Regions from separate parts of the Homo sapiens genome. Here all the other regions are linked to region 1. Evidence: promoter capture Hi-C in human tissues and cell types (Jung and others, 2019). All regions are on one chromosome and are shown on one strand. Each heading gives the region's core, a stretch centred on a gene start or on the middle of the fragment in contact. The rest is flanking DNA. Distances are from core to core; before and after follow the strand shown. Region 1 holds the start of PTGIS (prostaglandin I2 synthase). Region 2 overlaps KCNB1 (potassium voltage-gated channel subfamily B member 1). Region 3 overlaps KCNB1 (potassium voltage-gated channel subfamily B member 1).

What was found. Contacts are between HindIII fragments. The study calls those that stand out against the background at their distance.
Region 2: a contact is called between a fragment that was not itself captured here and the fragment with the promoter of PTGIS in region 1, in 1 of the 25 tissues and cell types used here (lymphoblastoid cells).
Region 3: a contact is called between a fragment that was not itself captured here and the fragment with the promoter of PTGIS in region 1, in 2 of the 25 tissues and cell types used here (IMR-90 fibroblasts and liver).

The regions. Positions count from the first base shown.
Region 1 is chr20:49,565,687-49,569,960 of GRCh38, forward strand. PTGIS (prostaglandin I2 synthase) reads right to left here and starts at 2,451. Exons shown (of 10, transcript NM_000961.4): 1 at 2,357-2,451. The coding sequence starts at 2,430. LOC101927486 (a long non-coding RNA gene) reads left to right here and starts at 2,358. Exons shown (of 2, transcript XR_244188.4): 1 at 2,358-2,487. RefSeq lists enhancers at 2,751-3,367, 3,368-3,982. The HindIII fragment of the contact is 24,721 bases long and covers 1-4,274 here.
Region 2 is chr20:49,363,660-49,367,933 of GRCh38, forward strand. KCNB1 (potassium voltage-gated channel subfamily B member 1) reads right to left here. Exons shown (of 2, transcript NM_004975.4): 2 at 218-4,274. All of the region lies in intron 2 of LOC105372649 (a long non-coding RNA gene), which reads left to right. Among named protein-coding and RNA genes, the nearest start is that of SNORD12, 85 kb to the left of the region's middle. The HindIII fragment of the contact is 6,282 bases long and covers 1-4,274 here.
Region 3 is chr20:49,407,814-49,412,087 of GRCh38, forward strand. All of the region lies in intron 1 of KCNB1 (potassium voltage-gated channel subfamily B member 1), which reads right to left. All of the region lies in intron 2 of LOC105372649 (a long non-coding RNA gene), which reads left to right. Among named protein-coding and RNA genes, the nearest start is that of KCNB1, 73 kb to the right of the region's middle. The HindIII fragment of the contact is 8,489 bases long and covers 1-4,274 here.

The DNA.
Region 1 (4,274 bases), core at 1,201-3,700:
TACAGCCCAGAGTTTTAATCCAGACAGACCTTGAGCAAGTTGCTTAGCCTTTCTGAGCCTGTTTCCTCCTCTGTAAAATGGAGATAACCAGAGTGTCCCTAGCTGAACTGGAAGGAGAAAGTGAGATTGGGGATCTAAACTGGGGTCCCCAGGGTCCATGCACCTACCCTCAAGCTGCCAGTGACCCTCATTCCCACACTTCTCCCCACTACCCACTGTTGACCCTTCCAAGGTGCCCACAGGTATAAAAATCAAAGGCTCAGCAGGGCGCGGTGACTCACGCCTGTAATCTCAGCACCTTGGGAGGCCGAGGCAGGCAGATCACCTGAGGTCAGGAGTTCGAGACCAGCCTGGCCAACATGGAGAAATCCTGTCTCTACTAAAAATACAAAAATTAGCTGGGCATGGTGGCACATGCCTGTAATCCCAGCTACTGGGGAGGCTGAGGCAGGAGAATCACTTGAACCCAGGAGGCAGAGGTTGCGGTGAGCCGAGATCGTGCCATTGCACTCCAGCCTGGGCAACAAGAGGGAAGATCCATCTCAAACAAACAAACAAACAAAAAAAGAGCCCATAACGTATTCACATGATGGAAGACTCCAGAGAGGATCAAAAGAATGGATTCGATCTCCTTGTAGCAAAAAGATCTGCTTGTAGCAAAAAGAACAGATGTCAAAACTAAAATCTGGAGTGAAAAGAGCAAGCAACATAATGTCTGAAAACATTTCTATACAGTGTATTGAGAAAGCCTGACAGGAAAAATAATTCATTTCTTCCCTGAGACATTTATTCACTGTCTTTTTCTTTTCTTGTTTTAAGGCAAATGATTGACTACACAGTTGTAAATTTCAGCTGAAAAGATGTCTGGAGGTTGAAGAAAAATACAGTGAGCTTATTGTTTGAAAATTCAACTACCATATTGTTTAAAAATCAAAAAGTTCCCAAGGTTTCCGGAATTTTCAGACACGAATGTAAACTAACTCTCTCTTACGTGGCTCTGTATTAGCTACAAGCTCATGTCTATGTATGTAAGAGTAATTTTTATGTAAGAGTAATTTTTAAAACATCTGGGAGACTGAGGAGGTATGAAAACTAAAGGCAATGTGGTAACTTGGGGCCGGATCCTGGAACAAAAGAGGACAGTAATGGGAAACTGGATAAAATCCCGTGAAGTTTGAAGTTTAGTTAAGAGTAACGGACCAGTGTTGGTTTTTAGTGGCGACAAATGTCCCATAACAATGTAAGATGTTAACAATAGGGAAAACGGGGTGAGAGAAATACAGGAACTTTTTGTACTATCTTTGCAACTTTCTGTAAATCCCAAACTAGTCTCAAATAAAAAGTATATTTTTTTAAATATGGAAGGTTCTACCCAGACTCAGCAACAGGAGAGGCCCAGAGAGGGAGAGAGGACTAGACTTCAGGGGCTGGGGGAGGGTTAAGGGGCTTCGGTCTTACCTATAACAGGATAAATATTTGTGTTAAGTCGAATGTATTCAGCTATTCCTTATGCAATTCAAGTTAACTTAAAAAATATTTTATGAAAAGGAGAGCTACAGCTATCTCCTTGATTTGAGGCTGTCTTTACTTTTTCTCCTAAATCACAGATGCTCAATGGAGCTGGAAAACCTTTGGGACCAGGAGGCTGTGACATCTGACCCTGGCTCCGTTCTGTCCAGGCTGTGGGACCTCAGGGGAAGGTAGAGACTTCATAGGCCTCAGTTTCTCCCTGGCAAATGAAATTACTAAGCCCACCGACCCCCGTCTTCCAGACGGGGAATCCCGGGGTGGGTGGTTCCAGGGCATGATCAAGACATCCCCCAGGGGCTCTACACTCCGCTGGCTCAACACTCCCATCTGTGTAATGGGTTGAGGAGCGAGGCTATCCCTATAGGACTGCCGAAAGCAAGGCAGGGTTTGACAGCGCGTAGGTGGGTGCCAGGTGCAGGCAGAGGCTGGAGAGTGGAGAGCGCTTCTTCCACCCGGGCCACGCAGAGGCTGTCCCCGCACGGCTCCCCACCCACAAACCCTCGGTCCTCACCTGAAACCCCCTCCTAGGTCCCTGCCGTCGCGCTAAGGGCCAGACTCGGACTTGTCGCGGTGGGCGATTCGCCCCGGGGGACCTACCGGACCCCGCACCTTCCCACCTTGCACCTTCTTGGCAGGGGGAGCACGGCCTGGCCCCCTCACCCACGTGCGGGGCCCCGGGACTCCCACCTCCGAGGGTCTCGCCTTGCCCGGGATACTGGAGCGGGACTCGGGCCGGGCCGGCCGCGGGCTCCGAGACCCTTGGGCTGCAGCCCGGGCGGGAGCCGCCCCCTTTGTCTGGCGGGGCCGAGCGGAGCAGGACACTCACCGCGTGCGGCGGCGGCTCAGTAGCAGCAGCAGCAACAGTGCGGCCAGGAGGCCGAGGAGCGCGGCCCAAGCCATCGCGGGGCTGGCGGGGCTGGCGGGGCTGGCGGGGCTGGCGGCCTGGCCCACTCCCAGGTAAAGTTCCCCGCCCCCACCCGGCGCGCCCCTCCCACTCCGCCCACCCCAGCCCGCTTTGGGGCGGGGTGGGGGGGGTGGGGGATGGGGCCCTCCGAGGTCCGCAGGGGTCGGACCGGGGCGCTCTGTTAGAAACCCTGCTCCCCCCAGCTCAGGCCTGATGGAAAATGTGGGAGGGAGGGGAGGGGAGAAGGAGGGGGAGGGGGAGGGGGCGGAAGGGATGTGGTGGGCTGGGGAGTGATCAAGGGGAAAGGAGATAGATGGGGGACTGAGGGGGATGTGGTGGACTGGGGGGTGATGGAAGGGAGGGGAGAGGGAGAGGATTTACAGGAAGGAAGAGATTATATGCGGGGAGGGAAGAGGGATGGGGAAGATGGGAGAGGACTTTTGGGGAAGGGAAGAGGAGGGAATGTGGGAAGACGGCGGGACGATGGGGAAACAGCCAAGGAGGTATGGGGAGGAGGGGGCACAGTGGGAGGAGAAAATGTGGTGGGAGGGGACGAACATGGAGGAGGAGTGTAAGGGGGTCAGGAGGAGCTTTCCCACCACATTCCACATTCCACCTAGACAGAGGAAACCCCCCAAGGCTCCTCCTCACCCCATCCCCCACCCCAGGCGTGCTGGGGACCTGGAGTTTTCCATTCTGTGGTCTGGGCTGGGAGGGCTGGTCTGGATTATATCGCACCCTATAGTATCTTCAGTAACTACTGGGCAGGGGGTACAAGGGTGTCTCAGGGAGTCCCCTCATCCTCACCTGCTTTGGGGACAGATAGTGCCCGTGAAGTATGCACCCTCTACCTGGTGCACGTTAGGGCCTCCGGATGTGGTGGCCATTGTCATCGCTACCTGGTGCTTGGGGTGCCAGCCCCCTGTGCCCGCGGCTCTGCAATGTACCACCCCAGGGTGCTGATGAGAACTGGGGGTCAATCCAGCCTCACTCCACGCCCCTGCCCCCACCATCCCCATTCCCACCCTGGGAAGCGTTGGGCAGGTAGCTCAACCTCTCTGAGCTCACCTCATTATCTGGAAACAGGGAGGGCAGAGTTGTGCTTACCTCTGGGGCTGTTGTGAGGAAGTGATGAGAGCTTGACACTAAAAGGAATCACAAACTGTTGAGTGCTTGGCACACTAAGTTTTATGAAACCATGGGCTGAACCTGGAGGTAAGACCCAGGAGGTCTTGTTCTAGTCCTGTATCCACCCATTCAGTGCCGGGTGAGCTTAGGCACGTTTCATTCCATAGTCCCAGCAGAGCTCTGGAGAAGCTGTTGCTCCTCCTGGTCTCCTGGCTTCCATCCTTATCAGCCAGGGTCCTGACAAGGCCCTTCGAGAACCAGCATGATCCGCCCCTTCTCACCTTTACCTGCCTGACCCTATGCCCCCGACTCTCTCCCTCACCCACTCTGCTCCAGCCACACTGATCTCCCCATCTTTCCCTAGAGGTCCCACTGCAGGGCCTTTGCACGTGCTGTTCCCTCTGTTCGGAGCATTCTTCGCACAGCCTGCTCTTTCCACCACCTCCCCGGTGCCTCTATCTCTGCTCAGCTGTCACTGCAGAGAAGCTGTCTTTGGCCACCTGGTCTAAAACAGTCATCTCCTCTTACTGATTTTTGTTTCTTTGTTTTTTTGATAGTTTTTTTTTCTGGCAGTACTTCACATGTCCTGCTATCATACTCAAGATTCATTCATTTGCCTGCTTAATGTTGGCTGTCGAGGCAGCTGGATGACCCCCTTGTGGCCTCAGCAGATTCAGAACAGCAGGAGGCAAAAGGAGTTTTCTGATCCTCT
Region 2 (4,274 bases), core at 1,065-3,564, 200 kb before region 1:
CAGAGTTGGAACTTTGATTCATGAATATCATGTAGGATGGGTTACCACTGGGTTGCATAGTGGGGGTGAAAAGCCAGTTATATTTTCATGTCCTCCCTCTTCTGGGGGGAAGAGAGAAAGCTGATGCCGCCTGGAGACAGGATTCCTGATTCAAGTCCCCTTACAGCGCTTCCCATCTCGCCTCCCTGTGCCCTCCAAAAAATAAACTCCTCCAGGCTTGTTTTTTCCATACCTTTTATTGAACTCTGCAGACTTCATTAAGGGACCATTTGCTTAGAAATTCTTAAACATTTGGACATATTTTACAAGACAAGACAGCAGCTGGAGGTCACACAAAGATCACAATTTCATCTCACCACATGCATAAAAAGACACTGGGATTTGTGTGTGTGTGTGTGTGTGTGTGTGTGCGTGTGTGTTGCGCACATGCGCAATGCTTATTTTCACCTTTACAGGAAGGACTAGAGACATTAACTGACGAGAGATGAATAGGACCCACGAATGCACCCCCGAGAAAAGAGTGGCTGAGGACATTGGTCATTTATGGCTAATGTGATTGGCTTGGCCCCTGTCAAGGGTGAGGTGATCAGAATGGCTTTACTGGCAGAAAAGCCCCAACCTCACACGACGGGTTCCTGGGAGAGACAGGGTCTTAGCTGATGGGATCTGGGGGCATACTATCATGACGGCTTTGGGGCTCAGAAAAAAAGATCTTCGGCTCTAAAAGCTGGAGGGCAGGCTGGCCTTAATATCCAGCTGGACTCCCATGGCTCAGGGAATGCAATCCAGTTTCCAGATGTTGGCTCCTATGTTTCTGCCCCAGGAAGTCCCAGACCAAAGGAAGTCCCAACTTCGAACCCTTGGCTTAGTCCATTGGAAAACCACTTGGTGGTCCCCCCCATGGGTCGTGTGTGAGCTAAAATAGAACATGAGGCTGAGAAATGCAGGGTAGGGGAAGAGGAAGGAGGGCAGAGCTGCTCTGTGGGCCCCCAGGAAGTGTGGCTCTGAGAGGGCTGTGGCCCTTATCAGCTTGGGGCCTACAAGCATCAAATTGAGATGTCATCTTGAGTCAAAGAAAGATGACCTTGATGGGGCAGTTATGGGTTTCAGTGGGAGAGGGGCTCCTCATTTTTCTTCTCTTCACAGTTAGGTAGGGATTCATTAACTCCCCCATTCACTCACACATTCACGCATCCAGTCATCCACTCAGAGGCCAACCAGTCACACATTCACTCACTCACAAAAACACAGGTTGGATGACCATCATGTGCCAGCGGCATAGGTTGGGGATAACCCTGAGTTCCTGGTGCAGAAAATAAGATTCTCAGTTTTTGACCTTGGATTGAGAAGGACCTATGAAATCAAGATAGACCTGGAGAATCCTCCCTGTCCCCACCCACTCAGGCACACTCAGCTCAACCAAGAGGGAGGCCCAAACCCCAGTGAAGCCCAAGGGGCAGAGCCAAGCTGTGGATATGTCAGAGTTTCTTGGGCATCTTCTCTGCTGCCTGCCTCTTTCCAATCTTGGTTCAGATCAGGGAAGCAGGAAGTATGGGAAGATCCCTGCATGGCCCCTTGAGGGCATCCTAATGGGACGGAATTGGGAGTTTCTTATATTTTCATGAAATATCCTATTTTTGTCTCCTTGTGTTGTTGCAACTTGAGTGATTCTGCAGGGCAGAGCCTCCAGTGAGGAGTTGGGAGGAATCTTGAAAACTGGTTTTTATTTTATTTTGGTTTCAGAGGAAGGCGGCTGCTCATTCTACCCATCCAAACATATCATCCTGCCCAACCTCATACTAAAACAACCAAAGACAAACCAGTCTTCGGTTCACCCTGAGGTTGAAGTCTCACTTTCTCCCAATCCACCATACATAAACCCTCTCTTGTCAAATGCTTTCCTTAGAGAATGCAGTATGCAGGATGATTTGGGATGGAGGCCACAGCTGCAGGAGAGTGGCATTCTGCTTGGAGGCAGCCAAGAGCCTGGTTTTGCTGTGAAACTGGATTAAAAGCTGCCTTTCTCTTTTGACCCTTCTGGATTTTTTTCATTGACGGGGACTTTCAAAGGTCTTGAGTGGGGTCTCTTATTTGATTTACCAAAAAAACAAGCCCTTTTGGAATGGAGCCATTTGCTATTGCCTGGGAAGTTGTTCATTGTGGGGATGGCTAGTGGGGAACAGATATCATTGCATCTTTTATACAGAAAGCCCCAGGCTCATGAGGGCACAGGAGCTGGGCGGAGGGGCTGAAGCACCATAAGACAGCCAGCCAGGGATGGGGGACAGCGTGGATTGCTCCTTGGCTGGCCTGGGGAAGGGTAGCATGAGTCTCATCCCAATGTGGTGCCTGGTAGGCCACTGGGGATGGGTTGGATTGGTGACTGACAGTCATTAAAATGTTCCAAGACGGAGCCGGAAGGAAGCAGACTTGTCTCTTGGACACCCCCTCTGAGAGCTCCAAAGCCCAGAAGTTGCATTCCTGCTAATTGTGCTGCATGCCTTTGCCTCAGTGGCTTGAGCTTATATCCAGAGTGTTGAAACCACCTACACACACACACACACACACACACACACACACACACACACACACTCCAAGAAACAAAGAGGAATTTCTGTGGTTGTTCAGCCCAGTTTCCATGCAATGCTAGGGCCCCTCTGCAATGCCCATTTTTTACACCATCTAGCCAGCCTCTCTTTAAACACCTGTGATATAAGGGAGCTCACTGTCCACCATGGCATTGAGCTCCATGGTCAGACAACCCAGCCTGTTAGGAGGGCTTCCTTAATTTGAGCTGCAATTGACCCCATCCCTTTCATACAATAGAAATTTTCGGAGAACTTGCATACAGCCAGCTGGCAGCTAAGTTTTTTTCTTCAGGTGCACTGCCCCACTCCACCCCATCCTGGCCAGCCTTTAGGAGATCTTTTCAGGATCTTTGGAGGGAGGAACAGAGAATTAGGTTTATAAGTGAAGATGAGGGTTCCCTCGATTAACAGAGCCCTACCCAAATTCAAGTTGGCATTTGGGGTAGTTCAGGAGAAATTCTAGGTTAAGATAAAATCAGGGAGAGTGGATGGAAATGCAAACTATATAACCTCTTTCTTGATGAAAACAGCAACAGCCATAGGCAACAGTGTTTGCTTATCTGGGCATCAAACCCAGGAAACTACTGGCAGACTTTTTTTTGTTTTGTTTTTTTGCTTTTGTGCAGAGGAAAAAAAAATCTTGTCTGTTTTATTTGACTCTGGTTCAAACCAGACTATCAGAGGTTTTCGGGGTGGGAGAACTCTGATCAGGGTCATAGTCCAGAATAATAAAATTCATATTTGAGTTGGCTTCCTCTTGGGAGTTATCTGATGGGATGGCTCACTGCCATCTGAGGGTCCCAGTTTGGCTCAAATTTCTGATTCTAGGCAGAGCCCCAAGCCCTGCAGCTGACAGTGAGGTGGGTGGTATACCAAAACCTAAACGAATGCAAGTTGGAGATTATCTGGGCTTTCTTCATCTTCCTGCATGAGTTGACGGATGGAGAATCACTTTCTGCTGAAGATCCTGCCTAGTGAGATGTCCTCCGCCCACCCAGGACTGAAAACTGCCTCTGGAATTAATTATCAGGACAGTCCAAAAACTCCCCCAGGCGTGGATAGGTGGAAGCTGGAAAACTGCCCCTGTCCTTGCCACACACCTCCTGCTCTATGGAGCCAGGCAGCTGGCAAGGGAAGGGGAGATGAGCTAGCAGATTCGGGGACATCTCTTCTCAGGGTTTGGCTGCAAGGGTGTCTGGCCACTGTTTTTTGGTGAAGCTGTTAGAAATGGATTGAAATGGACTGGGTGCAGTGGTGGCTCACACCTGTAATCCTAGCACTGGGAGGCCGAGGCAGGCAGATCACCTGAGGTCAGGAGTTCAAGACCAGCCTGGCCAACATGGAGAAACTCTGCCTCTACTAAAAATACAAAAATTAGCTGGGCGTGATGGTGCGCTCTTGTAATCCCAGTTACTCAGGAGGCTGAGACATGAGAATCACTTGAACCTGGGTGGAGGAGGTTGCAGTGAGCCGAGATTGCGCCATTGCACTGCAGCCTGGGCAACAGAGCAAGACTTTGTCTCAAAATAATAATAACAAAAAAATAAATAAATAAACAGATCGAAACAAGGAACTGATAAACAAGTTGGTGAGATCGGAGGCCCAGCATGTTCTTGTGAGGTTCACGAGAACCTGAAAAACCTCTGACCTTCAGCTCTGATTGATGTTACAGGCCGACAGGGTGCT
Region 3 (4,274 bases), core at 998-3,497, 160 kb before region 1:
TCTGGGCCACTCTGGCTCCTGGGAAGGCCCCAGGACCCCGTGGTCTTTGTACTTGGTGACTGATCTCCAGCCTTCCTGCCGCTGTCTGGAGCTGTCCTCTGACTGCACCGTCACCATGCTTTCTCCCCACTAGGCCCTGGCTCCCTCTAGCCTCCGCTTTCCAGGGCAGGGCCTGCCTCTCCAGCTCACATTTTGACTATACTGGGTCAAACCTGATAGCACCCTGGACATAGGCGCCTGTCTGTTAAGACTCCTGTTTTCCACAATTGCAGACAGATGCACAGAGAGTGTCACTAGCTTGATCAAAGTCGCACAGCAAAGGGAGTGTTGGGGCTGGGATTTGAGCCCAGATACCTTGACCCCCCCCGCCCCCAGCCCATTTACTGCAATTTTTTAAATTTTTTTTTTTATTTTTTTTTGAGACGGAGTCTCGCTCTGTCGCCCAGGCTGGAGGGCAGTGGCGCGATCTCGGCTCACTGCAAGCTCCGCCTCCTGGGTTCACGCCATTCTCCTGCCTCAGCCTCTGGAGTAGCTGGGACTACAGGCGCCCGCCACCACGCCTGGCTAATTTTTTGTATTTTTTAGTAGAGACGGGGTTTCACCATGTTAGCCAGATGGTCTCGATCTGCTGACCTCATGATCCGCCCGCCTTGGCCTCCCAAAGTGCTGGGATTACAGGCGTGAGCCACCACGCCCGGCCTCCCTGCAGTTTTGTTTCTGAAAATTGACTTCCTTTGGGTCTGGGTTTTCTATGCCTCCTCTCCTCAACATTCATTGCCTTCCTGGTTTGAACTGAGCCACAAAGTTACATTGGAAATGGAAACAGAAGGTGTCTTTGAGACCGTCTCCCAGGGTGATGTGCTGCGGTCTCAGAAGGACTCTCTGACAATGTCACACGAGGGAGGATGGGAGAATGGTATGAATGGTGGGAACTGAGGTGGCAGCCACAACACAATGGTGGGAAAAACAGGCTCCGCACTGGGTTCCAGCATTGGAGCTTCATGCTAGACCCAGGACAAATTCCTTCACCGCTCCAAGCCTTGCTTTCCCCATCTGCAGTGGGAGACAGTGAGACTTCCTTAATCGTGGAACTGTGAATATTTAATGGGAACGCGGATGTGGAGGGCTGGCCCAGGGCTTGTTCAATGAGGGGACCTGGGGTGGCCACTAGCTCCTGGGCCTGTGGAGGCAGGGGATGCTCTGGTGGATTCCAGAAGATGACAGTGGGCTCTCCTCTCTGGAGGGTGGACGAAGGCAAGCGCCTCTCTGACTGCCTTGCTTTATCCTTGGAGAATTCTCCCCAGTGCCCCTCTGTCCACTCTCATGCCACAGTTATCACCCCAAGCCTTTAACCAGCAGTCCCCTGGGTGCTGAGTACGTAACCAAGAGGGGAGTCCTGAGCCGCCATTCAGCCCTTCTCTGGCTTGGACACACTCCACGTTGCATGTCCATTCGGTTGCATGTCCTGAGTGCTTTCTGTGTGCCAGGCACTGTGCTGGGCTCTGGGAGTCACTGTCCCCAAGACAGCAGAGGAGCCAACAAACAGATGAAATGGCAGGGAGGGAGTTAGTGGGCGATGGAGAGAGTGCCAATGGGAGGGAGGCAGAGGGTTAAGAAAGCCCCTCTGAGGATGCCTGCTAAGCAGAGGTCTGAGGCCAAGCACTGTGGGGAAGAGGATACAGCGTGTGCAAAGGCCCTGAGATAGGAACGGTCGTGTTTGGGCACCAGAAAGGAGGCCAGTGTGGCCGGTGTGGAAGAAGCAAAGGAAAGAGTGGCCAGAGATGATAATGGAGAGGCAGGCGGGTGGCAGATCGGGCAGAGCTTTGAAGGCCGGGGTGAGGAACTTGCAATTTATTTTAAGGACCTAGAGGAAGAGGAGGCTCTGGGCCCTGGGTGGATGAGCTGCCTTACTTCTTGGAAGCACCAGGGCTCATGGGAGAACCTGACCGTCACTCAACCCCCGAAACCTGGCTGGCTTGTATGCAGCCTGTCCCCGCATCAGGAGGGGCCAAGCGACACCTCGCTGCACACAGCAGCCTCATTCCTGCCTCCCTACCTTTGCTCAGACAGGATCCCCTGCCTGGGGTGGCCTCTCCTCTCCCTGATTTGCCCACTCTTCCTCAGGAAACCTTCCCTGGCAGCTAGAGCCTATGGGGCCCTCCTCCTCCCAACCACTCTCCTGGTGTTGAAATCCACTGGGGTAGTTTGCTGTCAATGAAGATCCCAGGGTCTTCCACAGAGATAATGATTCAGGTGATCTGTGCTAGGACCCAGGAGTTCACATCTTTACAAACACTTCCACGTGATTCCTCTGTCCGGCATTGGAGAGACATAGCTGCTGGCATGTTTCCAGAGCTACTTCAGGCAACAGGGCACGCAGTATGTGTGAGGGGGAGAAGCAGGGGGCTCAGTGGAATCAGAAGGCCCTGGGTTCACATCTCAGCTTTAACACTTACCCAGCTGGGCGACTGTGGGCTAATCAGGCAGAGCTTTGAAGGCCAGGGTGAGGAGCTTCCACCACCTCTTAGAGCCTCAGTTTCTTTCTTTTTTTTTTTTTGGAGACAGAGTCTTGTTCTGTCACCCAAGCTGGAGTGCAGTGGTGTGAGCTTGGCTCACTGCAACCTCCACCTCCTGGGTTCACACCATTCTCCTGCCTCAGCCTCCTGAATAGCTGGGATTACAAGTGCCTGCCACCATGCCTGGCTAATTTTTGTGTTTTTAGTAGAGATGGGGTTTCACTATGTTCGCCAGGCTGGTCTGGAACTCCTGACCTCAGGTGATCCACCTGCCTTGGCCTGCCAAAGTGCTGGGATTATAGGCGTGAGCCACCGTGCCTGGCTGAGTCTCAGTTTCTTCATTTATAAGGTGGGGACAGTCACACTGACCTCAGAGTATTGTGAAAGGGATGACAAATATAATGTGCCTAACCCAAGAGGTTGCCCACAGTTGGTGCTTAATAGATGCAGCCTGGGGCCCACTCCACACTTGCTTCCCTAAGGGCCTGAATAAGGCAATGCTCTCTAAACCAGGGCTCAGCAAACTTTGTCTGTAAAAGGGTCAGAGAGTAAATATTTTAGGCTTTGGGGGCCGCATGATCTCTGTCACAACCCTTAAACTCTGCAGGGCAGCACAGACGCGGCCACAGATAAACAGAAATGAGTTTGTGAGTTATGGCTCTGTTCCAAAAACCCTGATGGTCCTAAAATTTAAATTTTATATGGTTTTCACATGTCACGAAACAATATTTTTCTTTGGATGTTTTTCAGCCACTTGAAAATGTAAAAACTGTTCTTAGCTTGAGGGCTGTACCAAAACAGGGGGTGGGCTAGATGTGGCCCACAGGCCCTGGATTGCTGGCCCCCGCTCCAGAGGCTTTACATGTCTTAGCTCATAGGACCCTGATGAGATAGGCAGCCCTATGTTCAGATGAAGAAACGGAGTCTCAGAGAGACTGGAATCCTCGGGCAAGGTTCCACAGCAGAAATAGTAGATATTTTAGTCTTTGTGCACCATTTGGTCTCTGTTGCAAGAGATAACTGTGAGATTTGAACTCAGGCAGAGCTGGGCTCAGAGCCCCTGTTATTAACCACAGTACACTGTCTCGTGGAAGCCACACAGGCCACAGATACACCACATTTCAGAACCAGTGACCTTATCTCTTAAAACCAGAATCTCTGCCTTCATATGAGCCTAGGTGGGAAAGGCTGGGCTGGTCAGGCAGGAAAGACAGTCTTTTGAGCTTAGAGGGTGGAGGGGGCTTCTAGGGCCATTGGCCACCTGAGCTGCAGCCCCGGGCACGCTTTGCAGTCCCCTTTCCTGCGCTGACCCTATCTGGTAGGGGTGAGCCTGCCTGAGTAATTAGGTCTGACTGCTGCAGGCCCGCTGAGGACTTCACGCTCCCAACATTCTCCTCCGTCTTATTCATGTTTGGTATTTTTATTACATTATTTTGACATGACATTCCCTAAGTGACATTCAGCTAAACTGTGTTTTTGTAGAATAGGGACTTGCCACTCTCTCGGCACTGCTGCATTCATGATGACAGCCACATGTCTGACATCTCCCCCAGGGTGCAATTACATGTTGACAAAAGAAAACTCTGAAAAAATTTAGTGTGGAAGGAAAAAGCTCAAGCTGCCTTAATTAATAAGTTAATTAATTTTCATTCATTTGTACTGTTGGCGATATAGTGGTGAACATGATAGTCAAGATTCCTTACCACAATGAAGCTTACTTTCTAGTAGGGGAGTCAGACAATAAACAAATAAACAAGG